4 separate regions of the Homo sapiens genome follow, and regions 1, 3 and 4 are each linked to region 2. Evidence: promoter capture Hi-C in 16 types of primary human blood cells and fetal thymus (Javierre and others, 2016). All regions are on one chromosome and are shown on one strand. Each heading gives the region's core, a stretch centred on a gene start or on the middle of the fragment in contact. The rest is flanking DNA. Distances are from core to core; before and after follow the strand shown.

Region 1 (2,700 bases), core at 148-2,647, 260 kb before region 2:
TTACATCCTAGTGGGAGAAACAGATCATGGGAGAAACAGATCATAAACTAATAAGAAAAACATACAGTGTTAGATAAGGATAAGTGCTATAAAGAAACATCAAAGCAAGGGAATGGGATATCAAAGGAAGGGGTCAGTGACAAAATTATGGATACAGTAGCCACAGAAGGCCTCGCTAATAGGGTAACTTCTGAGAGAAGACTGGAAGGAAGCAAGAGTGAGCCCTGCAGACATCTAGAGGGAGCATCCCAGGCAAAGGGAATTAGGAGCACCAAGGCTCCAAGGCAGGAGCGTGCCCAGCATGTGCCAGGAGAGGGTAGGGCCTGTGGGGCTGGAGGGGGCACAAAGGGAGAGGATTAGGAGAACTCAGAGGGGGACGAAAGGAGCTAAGTCAAAATGGGCCTTGTCTGTCTCAGGCTCCTGGAGGTCAGGACTCTGGTGTTGGGGCCTTGGGCAGGCCCTTCCCTCTCCAGCTGATTTCTCCCAGTGGAGGATACGTGTGGTGTGGATATGATTGTGAAAGCTTTGAGGATTATGCCATGTGCTGAGCAAAACTCAGACCCTGTGGCCAGGTGGGGTGGCTCACTCCTGTAATCCCAGCACTTTGGGAGGCCGAGATGGGTGGATCACCTGAGGTCAGGAGTTCAAGATCAGCCTGGCCAACATGGTGAAACCCCATCTCTACTAAAAATACAAAAATTAGCAGGGCGTGGTGGCGCATGCCTGTAATCCCAGCTATTTAAGAGGCTGAGGCAATAGAATCGCTTGAACCCAGGAGATGGAGGTTGCAGTGAGCCGAGGTTGCAGTGAGCCGAAATTGCACCACTGCACTCCAGCCTGGTGACAGAGCGAGACTCCATCTCAAAAAAAAAAAAAAAAAAAAAAAGCAGCCAGGCATGGTGGTGTGCGTCTGTAGTCCCAGCCACTCAGGAGGCTAAGGCAGGAGAATTGCTTGAACCCAGGAGGCGGAGGTTGCAGTGAGCCGAGATCACACCACTGCACTCCAGCCTGGGCAACAGAGTGAGACTGTCTCAAAAAAAAAGAAAAATCCAGCCCTGCAGGCCCTGAGATTCTCCAGGTTAAAGTCACAAACACCCACCCTTTCTGAGACTAAAGTTTGGGAGATGCTAAGATGGTAGCAGTGCTGCCAACCTCAGGATGCAGAGGGCCTTACCTCTCCCCACCCACCTGCTGCTCCTGCACCCTGGGAAACAAAAGAGGGGCTGACTTCAGGCCACAGTGGCCTAGTGGCCTCTAGGCCTTGTGTCCACAAATACTGTGTCACACGGCTTGGGGTCTTTTCCTTCACAATGAATTCATCTTCATCCATCATTCCATTAATTATTCTCCCCAGTATTCTTTTATTCATGTACATATTCATTTCCTCCCTCATTCTATTTGTTTACTCCTTTCTTCACTCATACACATATTCATTTTCCTCCCTCCTCAAACTTATCACAAGAGTAACTAAATACATCATAGATTGTGCAACTCCCAGTGTCTGCCTGACTTCTCAGCTACAATGTGAAAGATGAGGGCAGGAAGCATGTCTTCTTCACAGCTGTGATACCAGCATCTGGCCCCATGCAGAGCCCATAGCATGTGCTCTATAAATGGATTTCTACAGCCATCCATTCACTGCACGTGCATTCATTCTTTAGGCATTCCTCAAACCTCCGTGTGTACCAAAACCTGGGCCAGACACATTTCAGAAGAGGGAGAAGCAAGAAGAAAATATAGGATAAATTATCCCAGCCCCTGTCATCCACCATTCCATTCATCCATCCAATAAACGTTTACCAATGACACTTAGTACTGAATCCTGAGCCGGCAACTGCTTATGCAACTGCTTGCATAAGGATGATCAAGGGAAGGCTGAGGTTGAGCCGCAGCTGGGCCTCAGAGAATGGGCAAAATGTCAGGAGGAAATGTAGCCAGGGGAGAGGGAATGGCAGGAACAGAGGTTTCCATGAACATCACCCTGCCTGGTGGTTAGGGTACAACTGCTATCAAGATAGCTTGGGGCAAATCATGGAGGCATTTAATTGTCAGGCATGAGAGTTTCCTGGGCTCCAGAGGAACTTGATCTCGGCCTGTCATTTCCAGGTGTGAGAAGGCAGGTGAGGCAGGCAGCGCTGAAGGTTTCAGGTTGGTTGCTCCTGGGCAGAGTATGATTTCCTGTTTGCCTAGAGAGGAAGAAAAGGCCTTCGAAAGACAGTGAAGGTTCTCCAACAGGCCACACAAGCTCAAAATGGCTCAGACAAAGCTTTGTGATGACTTTAATGCAAATGAACTAAAAGTATATGGATTAAATTTTCCTCCCTAAAATACATGAGCTGTGGAAACAGAAAGGTGTGTATTTAAATGTAGGCCCCTTGAGCTCTCTCTAAGCCTGTCTTAGCGCAATGATACACCATGGACGCGGTTAACTCTGCAGGTGCCACAGTTCCACCCAACAGCTTTGGACCTAATCAAGGATAAAGGGGTCTCAGCCCTCTAATGCTGCAGCTCCCCTCCCCAAATCTTCTGGGCCCTGGCAGGTCCTGGCAGAGATCCTGGGCCCACTCTTGGCCTCTTTGACCAGGAAAAATTTGCTCCCGGGCTTAGGTCTTCAAAAAACACCAGCTCTTTCTGGCTAGCCAGGAAGGAGAGTAAACACCAAATAATAACAAAACAATAGGTATAATTTTAATATTTATT
Region 2 (2,700 bases), core at 55-2,554:
GGCGCCCCCGCCGCCTGCACCACCGCCCGCGTCCGTCTTGAGGCCCTGGCGCAGAAGTGCGGTGGGCAGACCCGCCGCGGTGCCGGCTGCGGGAGGACTCAGGGACGCCGCGTAGAAGGCTTTGGCGCAGCCCAGCTCCGCGCCCAGGAAGGCGGGCAGGCCTGCGGGGCCCGGGCCCGGGCCCGAGCCTGAGGCAGGCGCAGGAGCTGGGGCCGATCCCGCGCCTGCGAACACCGAGGCCGTCGGAGGTCCGGGTGGAGGCGCGGCGGCGCGGCCTGGGGGTACCGACAGCTGGCAAGGAGCGGCGGCGGCTGCCGCGGCGAAAGCGAAGGCGTGCGGGTGCGGGTGCGGATGCGGGGCCGGCCCCGGCGGGGGTGCGCCGTAGGCCGGGAGAGCCAGCCCGTAGCCGTAGCCGTAGGCGCCGTAGGCAGCGAAGCCGGGCAGGAAAGCGCCGGGATCCCCCGCCGCCGCGGCCCCGCCACGCAGCAGCAGCTCCGGGTGAGGGTGCGGGTGTGGGTGCGGCGGCGGCAGGGGCTGCCGCTTGAAGCGCTTGCGACGCCGCAGGAAGCTGCCGTTGTCGAACATGTCGGCCGACTCCGGGTCCAGCGTCCAGTAGTTGCCCTTGCCCGGGTTGCCCGGCTCGCGGGGGATCTTGACGAAGCAGTCGTTGAGAGAGAGGTTGTGGCGGATGCTGTTCTGCCAGGCGGGGAACTTCTCCCGGTAGTAGGGGAAGCGGCCGCTGATGAACTCGCAGATCTCGCTCAACGTCAGCCGCTTCTTGGGGCTCTGCAGGATGGCCATGGTGATGAGCGCGATGTACGAGTAGGGCGGCTTCACCAGCGGGCTCCGCGTCGCCGCGCCCCCCGACGGCGGTCCCGGCCCGGGCCCCGCTGCGCCGCGGGCCGCCGCGGCGCCTGGCCCCGGGCTCCCCGCTGCGGCCGCCGCCCCCCGGGACGCCAGAGCGCGGGGCTCGCCGTCCGAGCAGCCACCAGACTCCTCCTCGTCCTCGGCTAAGTCTGCCTCGGCTTCCTCCGCGGGAGGCTCGTGGCCGTGGGGGAGCACGTCCCGGGGGGCGCGGGGCCCGGAGCGAGCTGGGAGCTCCCCCCCGCCGCTGCCGCCGCCCACCACGTCTATGTCTGCGTCGGCCTCGGACAGCGCGGCCGGGGAGCTCTCGGAGGACATGATCTCGCAGCAGCAGCTGCCCAGGGTCATGGTGCCGCTGCCGCCGCCGCCGCCACTCTCCGGCTCCGCTCCGGCAGCGGCTCGGGCTCGGCCGCGCTGCCTCTGGGGCGAGTGCGTTTTGCGCGCGGGCGGGGAGGGGGCGGGGGACTGAGGCAGGCAGGGAGGGGTGTCCCCCGGCTCCGCAGCGCCCCCTGGCGGCCCAGCTCGGCCGCGCTCACCTTCCAGGGCACGACCCGCCGGCGGCCCCCGCCACTACCCCGGGAATCCGAGCTGGGACCCGCCGCTGGGGCGCAACGGAAGGAGCTGAGGCTTTCCCTTACCTGGGCGGGCCTCAGCCCCTAGTCCCCTCGGGGTGGCAGTGGTTGGTGGTGGGGGATTGTCCCTCCCGCCTAGCGGCTGCCTAAGGCGGAAGAGCTGCGGGCTAGGGCGGAGCTCCCTGGGCGGGGTGGGGCGAGGCGACAGGGGCGGGCGTAGCGCCTCCGCTGAGGGACCCGGCGGGAACAAACCGCCGCCGCGGCGGGAGCTGGGCTCGAGTGGCCGGAGGCGGGCCCTTGTCTTCGCCGCCGCTCCTGCACCCTGTGCTCCCTGAAGCCGCCGCCTTCAGAACGCTCAGCCCCTGGATGTTAAGGCTCACTCGGGCGCCAGCCGCAGCCAGGGAAGTGGCGGCGGTCCCCACCCGTCCTCTCCCCAAGGCGGCGCCCGGGCCACCGGGCCGAAGCGCAGTGGGAGCGCGAGGCTGAGACGCCGGGACCCACGCCGCCCCAGCGCGGCCCGCCGGCGCCCACCCGAGCCCGCACGGCTTCCAGCCCGAGGGGAGACGCATTCGAGTGATCACCAGGAGCGAACTTGGCGCCCGCAGCCTTGGGCCTGGGAGAGGTGAGATTGCGGCGGCGCCCTCTCCTCCCTCCGCTGTCGGGCCCGCCACCCCTCTCCGCGCGGAGAGGCCGGGCAGAGCGCCGGCCGCTGTGGCCGCGTTCCCGGGGCGCGGGCCGGTCTACTGCTCCGAGTTTGCCTGTTCTCCGACCCTCTGGATCTCGGCATCCGTTTGTCTCAGTCTCTGTGACTATCTCACTCTCCGTGAGTCTCTGTGGAAACGGCATTTGTCTGGATGTCTGTTCATGGGTCTGGGAATCCGCTTAATTTCTCCCTCCCCTCTCCCTGGCCCCAGTTGCCCTGAGGACTGGACACCCCCCACCTTCCTGGCTCCCAGGGTTCTGGGCCCCACCGACAGGCGGCAGGACCTCCTCCGCCCCCTGCCCGACACCCCCTCAGTGAACCCTGACCTCCACCAAGTGTTGCCTTCATCTCTCAAAAGTCTTGTGCAACTAAGGTTGGCCCTGTGCCTTGTTTCTCGCTAGCCGGGTTCCTGCCCATCCTATTAGACCTCTTTCTCCCCCGGCCTCCCTCCAGGACCCAGAAACAAGCAGCTTCAACACAGATTGGGCCCATTTCAGCCTCTGGGGCACGGAAGGGGAGATGGGCGCTGGACGTGAGCAGGAACTGAGCGGATGCCTGGGC
Region 3 (2,700 bases), core at 71-2,570, 320 kb before region 2:
CTCATAGCAGCCGCCAGCCAGGGGAGCTGGGCTGGCCACTGTTACGGTATCGCAAAATGAAATTATTTTCAGAAAATATTCGTAAAATCTTGTTTCATATCAGTTGGTTCTGGGCTTGCAAAACAGTTCCTGGTTTGTTTTGTTGTTGTTGTTTTGTTTTTTCTTAGTTTTCATTTCTTCCTCCCTGATCAGCCACAAAAAAACAGTGATAAAATTCCCAACCTGAAGACACAAGTTCCCAGGCAAGGAAGGGTTGGGGACTTGCAGGTCCCCAGACATCCCTTCCCAGTGTTCCCTCACCTCTGCTGCCCTGAGACCCAAGAGGGGGACAAGGGGGCTGAGCAGGATGGTGACCAAGGGTGGGGACGAAGAGTGAAGGAGAAGATAAGCAAAAGAGACAAAAACACATAGAAAGATGGATGGAGAGAGAGTGAAGACACAGTAGGAGACAGCAACAGAGAAGCAGAGAGAGGCAGAGAGAAAGGGGGAGAATGAAAGGGAGTCATCGGAAGAAGCCTGGATGGGGAGGCAGAAAAACACAGACGAGCATGGGTGGAAACAGAGAGAGGCAGGACTGGCTGGAGTCAGAACACAGCAGGGTCTCAGCAAGAGGGAGGAGGCCTGGTTCAGATCCACAGCACAGGCTGGGGCCTGGCTTGAGGGGCCAAGACAGACGGGCCACTGGAGACAGCTCCTGGGTCCAGCAGTCTTCCTGCTCCCGGGGAGACCTGAAAACACAGATTGCTTCCAGGGCCAGCCAGTCTCCCCGCATTCAGCCTCTCACCCTTCACCCCGTCCCAGAGGTTGTCCCGGCTCAGTCGGGGTCTTGGGCTTATGGTCAGGGGGAGCCAGAGTCCTGGACCTGCTTTTGCGCCAGGTAGTCCCTCCCTTCTCTCAGCCTCGTTTTTCTCATCTCTATGGTGAGTTTAATAAAACTAATTCTGGCACAGGCTGCAGTGAGGTTTTAATGAGATGGTGGATGTAAGAAAGCTTTGGAAACCAAGGCCCAGAGCACGTGTTAGCTGTTACTGCCACCCCCACAGGCAGCAGAGACCAGCAGCACAGGTGGAGGGCTGGCCTCAGAGTGCCCAGGCTCCAAGTGGCAGCAGAGGGGATACTCTCTGGAGCTGGTGGAATCAGGCTTTAGAGGCTGTGACTCACAGGTCAAGGCATGAGGACACCACCCGGTGGGCAGCAGGAGCCCCAGGCAGCTTAAGAACAGAGGAGTGGCATAGAGGTCGAGGAAAAGCCTGATGCCCTGGGGCCATCTCCTCCTCCCATTGAATCTCAGTTTTCCCATCAATAAAATGGGAGAGGATAGCCTCACCCCACAGAGATACCGTGAGGATTTAGGATAAGGCAGGTTTGCCTGTGCTCGTAGACTCCAAGAGCTTTGTGGTGGTGATGATGATGAAGATGAGGGAGGACGGTATTTCCTGAGCCCCACCTCCCCCTATGCCCCTTGCCCGATCCCAGGGACAGAATGACCCATGAAGTCATGTGGTCCCAGGGACTTTCCTCAGTGATGGTGGGTGGTCATGGGAGGGCACTGGAAGCACTACTGGGAGTCCCCTGGGAAGGGACTGACTCTGCTGAGTTGCCCACCCCTCTGCTCTGGAGCCATACCCAAAGACAGACACTGAAGCTTGGGCCAACCTCTGCTTGGACTTGGAAGGTGGTACTGGTAGGGGGATTGGACTTGGAAGGTGCTACTGTCTCTCCTGCCATCCAGCAGCTGCCACCAGGGGGCAGTGCTACTCAGGTCGTGACCTCAGGCTCTAAACAGGTGACCTGACGGAACAAGGCAGGAAAGTGGGAGCTGGAGGGGACATGATTCTTCTGTGGGCTCAGGCCCCTCACTGAACAGATAAGGGGAACACCAAGAGATGGACCCACCCAAGGCCTCTTGGCATGTGCGAGTCGGAGGCCAACCCAGGAGTCCAGACTCCCAGGCCCCCCTTCTGGCCTCAGCACACTGGCTCACCTAGATACAGAGAACTGGCCCAAAGAGTCCAGTTCACCTTGGGTCCAAAAGCCTTCCACATCCCAAACCTGAGCCTGCAGGGTGCCAGGCCCAACTAGAGAAATGCAGAGCCTGCAGCTCGGTGGGGGAGGCAGACACTGAGTAGCATCCATCAAGTATGTGATGGTTACCATAGTACTGGGGACCTTCCTCAAGAAGTTAAAATTAATATGGAATGTGCATTTGCTTCCTCTCCCCCTCCCTTCCCCTCCCAGCAGTGCTCCCTCACAGGCCCTCTACAGTTTGCCCAACGAATCTCTCCAGACATGTGTCTCCTCCCCTCCCCTAAAACCATGCTCCAGCCATAGAGAGCTACTCGGGCTCCCTGAACGTATCTGCAATTTCCCAACTCCATCTCCATCCCCACTGTCCCTTCCACAGCTAGCTGCTCATTCCCCCTATTTTCACCTGAAAACTTCTTTCCTGGTATTCAAGGCCTCACTTAATTTGTGCTTCCTCGTAGAAGCGTGCTCTGGTCCCCCGGGCTCACACTTCCACCTCTCCTGAAGCCCCAGCCTTTGTATGCATCCAGTCTTAGATGATGGGTTTCGTATGGCTTATCACCCTTAGAATATGATAAAGGGAAAGCCGTGCATGCAGAGCCCAGGTCATATTCATTTTTCCATCCCCTGGATGAATAGTCTTTAAAATAGAGGACACGTGGTCAACATTTATTG
Region 4 (2,700 bases), core at 57-2,556, 280 kb before region 2:
GCCCCTCAGAGCCTGTCTGCCCAACAGAAGACCAAGGACTCCACGATTCTAACGCCAGCTAAACCCAGAGCTCATTCCCAATGGTAGCCTCAGCATCTAGCCAGGACCTGGCACCAGAGGGGCTCAATTAATATTTGTTGAGTGACTACGTAAATGAATTTCCAACTCTTTGTAGAACATCTATGAGGGCGGTCATGAGATAAGTTGGTGAAAGTAAATGGGAAAGACCGAGGTGAGTAAACATGAAAGATTCATTTAGTTATTAATACAAATATTTCTCTCTGTCATTTTTGTCTATTGGCCTCCCTTCTTTTCCAATACAAACATTTATTAGGCATCTACCATGGAACAGGCCTGTGTGGGCTCCACAGATGCAGGGATAGACAATGTTAAGACATTTCTCAACATTCCTTTAGCCCTTACTGTGTGACTGACACTAATCCAAGCATTTTACATGGGTTTTCTCACTTAATACTCATAACAACCTGAAGAAGTAGAAACTTTTATTATTGTTCCATTTTACATGTTAGGAAACAAGAGACAAAGAAATTAAATAACTTAGTCAAACTAACTGAGAAAGTGGTGGAGCCCAGAATCATATGCAGACACTCAAATTTCAGAGCCAAGTGGGGAAAAATCTTCAGCCCTGCGTACCTCACTAGCTGATTGAATCAGGTGTGAGGGGGGGTTAAGTAAGGCAAGGGAGGGCCTTAGATGACATACATAGCATGGTATTTAGCAAAGAGAGAGCTCTTTCTAAATGTGACTATTGTGAACCCTATTTTTATTGTGAAAGTATTACCATGAAAGCAATAATTTTGTTATCCACACTTTCTCTCTTTTCTTTGGTATCTAATGAGCTTTTTTTAAAGGCCCTTAGAGGGTAGCTAAGGCACTGACTAAAGAGGGAACTGAGGCCCAGAAAAGGGCAGGAATCTGCCTCTTCCCAGGCCGCCAAGGCTAGAAGCATCAGTCTACTGGTAAATTTAACACCAGCTCTCTAGAGAAGAGAAAGCCTGATTTGCAGTCTTTGCCAGTTTCTATGGTGTGTTCTCACCATGGCAGATTTCAAACTGAAGTGAGATCACTTGATAGTGCAGTTGAATAGAGGCACTTACGGTCAGCTCTGGCCAGTGGGTGCAAACAAGCTCTGCACACCACGGACCAGAACCTAGGCTTTCTGACAAGCCTGGAGACCTTTACAGGATACCACCAAATCCAACGGCCCCAAGGGTCCATGTAGATGAGGAGTGGGGCTATGAGGATAGGAGGAAAAGGAGAGGGACAAAATGCTGAACCCCGAAGAGCTCTGAAAAGTTCAATAGGTCTTCCTTCTCCACACACTCAAGATTGCTTGTTCTATGCTCTCTCTGATAACTTGTAAAGTTTAGACTTGGGGAGAAGAAAGGGAAATGGCTTGGTTCCTGATACCCTCCTAGATTGAGCAGGATGTGGCAGTATGAGCTCAGTCCTGCCTGCTTTGCAGTTCCTGAAAGAAGAAGCCGTGGCTGGGGTCACCTGCTCCCTGGGTCCAGAAAGGGAGATCAGGTGATTTCATTTCCAGAGTACAGCATGTATTTCTCAATTTAACTTTGGGTCATTTTCACCGCTTATTTCCTTCCTCCTGGTCTCATAGTGTGTCCAGTGACTAATCCAAGACCCAGACTCTGACATAGGCTTAGAGATCTGTGATGTTGGGCACTCTACCAAGTACCCCTCTTCATCAGCATGGCCTCAATTCCACTAGTAGCTCTCCCTCTAGGTCAAGTCAGTGATGTGCTATTAAAATTGTCCGACTATTAATGATGGTAGTGAAAAAAATAACTGCACTTACTCTAACATCTTTAAACTGACTACTTAATATTAGCTTATTGCTATCCCAAACAAGTAAAAGAAACATTTAAGCCCCTACTATGTGTCAGACATGCAATGTGCATTATATTTAATTTTCCAAGCAAACTGACCAGGAAAGTTATCATCCTCATATTTTATTGATGAATAAAGCTCTTCCTAGAAGGGTTATGTAACTTGGCTGAAGTCACATGGCTAGTAGGTGACTGAGCCAGGATTGGAACCCAGGTGTATTTGTGTTCAATACTGTATTCTTTCCCTATTCTGTGATGATTCATCTCTTAGGTTGATTAGGAAAAAAAAAAAATCAAGATAATTCTGAGAGAGTGAACACAGGCTAGGCATATTAGTTTTCTATTGCTATGAAACAAATTACCATAAATTTAGCAACTTATAGCAGTACCTATTTACTATGGTATAATTGTGTAGCCCAGAAATCCGGGTGGGCTTATGTGAGTCTTCTGCCCTGGGTCTCACAGGCTAAAATCAAGGTGTTAGCCATCTGGGGTCTTATGGGAAGGCTCTGGGAAAAATGCCCTTCCAAGCTCAATCAGGATGTTGGCAAAATCCAGTTCTTTGCAGTTGTAGACTGAAGTCCCTGGTTCCTTGCTAGCCATCAGCTCCTTAAGGCCATTCATTTTCCTTCTCACATGGTCCTCTCCATTTTCAAAGCCAGCAATGATGCAGCAAGTTATTCTCATACTTCAAATATCTCCAAGATCTCCTTCTTCTGACTTCCTTTTCTGCTGTTGGCTAAAGAAAGCTTGCTGCTTTTAAGGGCTCATCTGATTCCACTGGGACCACCAGATACTTCAGGATAACTTCCCTATCTTAAGGCCAACTATACCA

Evidence for each region. Contacts are between HindIII fragments. The CHiCAGO score rates a contact against its expected background, and 5 or more counts as called.
Region 1: a fragment that was not itself captured here is called in contact with the fragment with the promoter of FOXD2 in region 2 in 11 of 17 cell types (M2 macrophages, naive CD8 T cells, M1 macrophages and 8 more); the score reaches 10.6 in M2 macrophages.
Region 3: a contact is called between a fragment that was not itself captured here and the fragment with the promoter of FOXD2 in region 2, in 3 of 17 cell types (fetal thymus, total CD4 T cells and megakaryocytes). The highest score is 6.5, in fetal thymus.
Region 4: a fragment that was not itself captured here is called in contact with the fragment with the promoter of FOXD2 in region 2 in 16 of 17 cell types (M2 macrophages, endothelial precursors, megakaryocytes and 13 more); the score reaches 22.1 in M2 macrophages.

What each region holds. Positions count from the first base shown.
Region 1 is chr1:47,698,879-47,701,578 of GRCh38, reverse strand. The region is part of intron 2 of LINC01738 (long intergenic non-protein coding RNA 1738); the gene reads right to left. Among named protein-coding and RNA genes, the nearest start is that of LINC01738, 12 kb to the right of the region's middle. The HindIII fragment of the contact is 1,743 bases long and covers 526-2,268 here.
Region 2 is chr1:47,436,648-47,439,347 of GRCh38, reverse strand. FOXD2 (forkhead box D2) reads right to left here and starts at 1,304. Exons shown (of 1, transcript NM_004474.4): 1 at 1-1,304. The coding sequence starts at 1,212. It overlaps LINC01389 (long intergenic non-protein coding RNA 1389), which reads left to right and starts at 2,031. Exons shown (of 5, transcript NR_126355.1): 1 at 2,031-2,058. RefSeq lists silencers at 1,075-1,254, 1,285-2,184, 2,665-2,700. The HindIII fragment of the contact is 12,776 bases long and covers 1-2,700 here.
Region 3 is chr1:47,754,656-47,757,355 of GRCh38, reverse strand. No RefSeq gene overlaps it. Among named protein-coding and RNA genes, the nearest start is that of LINC01738, 68 kb to the right of the region's middle. The HindIII fragment of the contact is 655 bases long and covers 993-1,647 here.
Region 4 is chr1:47,716,907-47,719,606 of GRCh38, reverse strand. No RefSeq gene overlaps it. Among named protein-coding and RNA genes, the nearest start is that of LINC01738, 30 kb to the right of the region's middle. The HindIII fragment of the contact is 2,620 bases long and covers 1-2,616 here.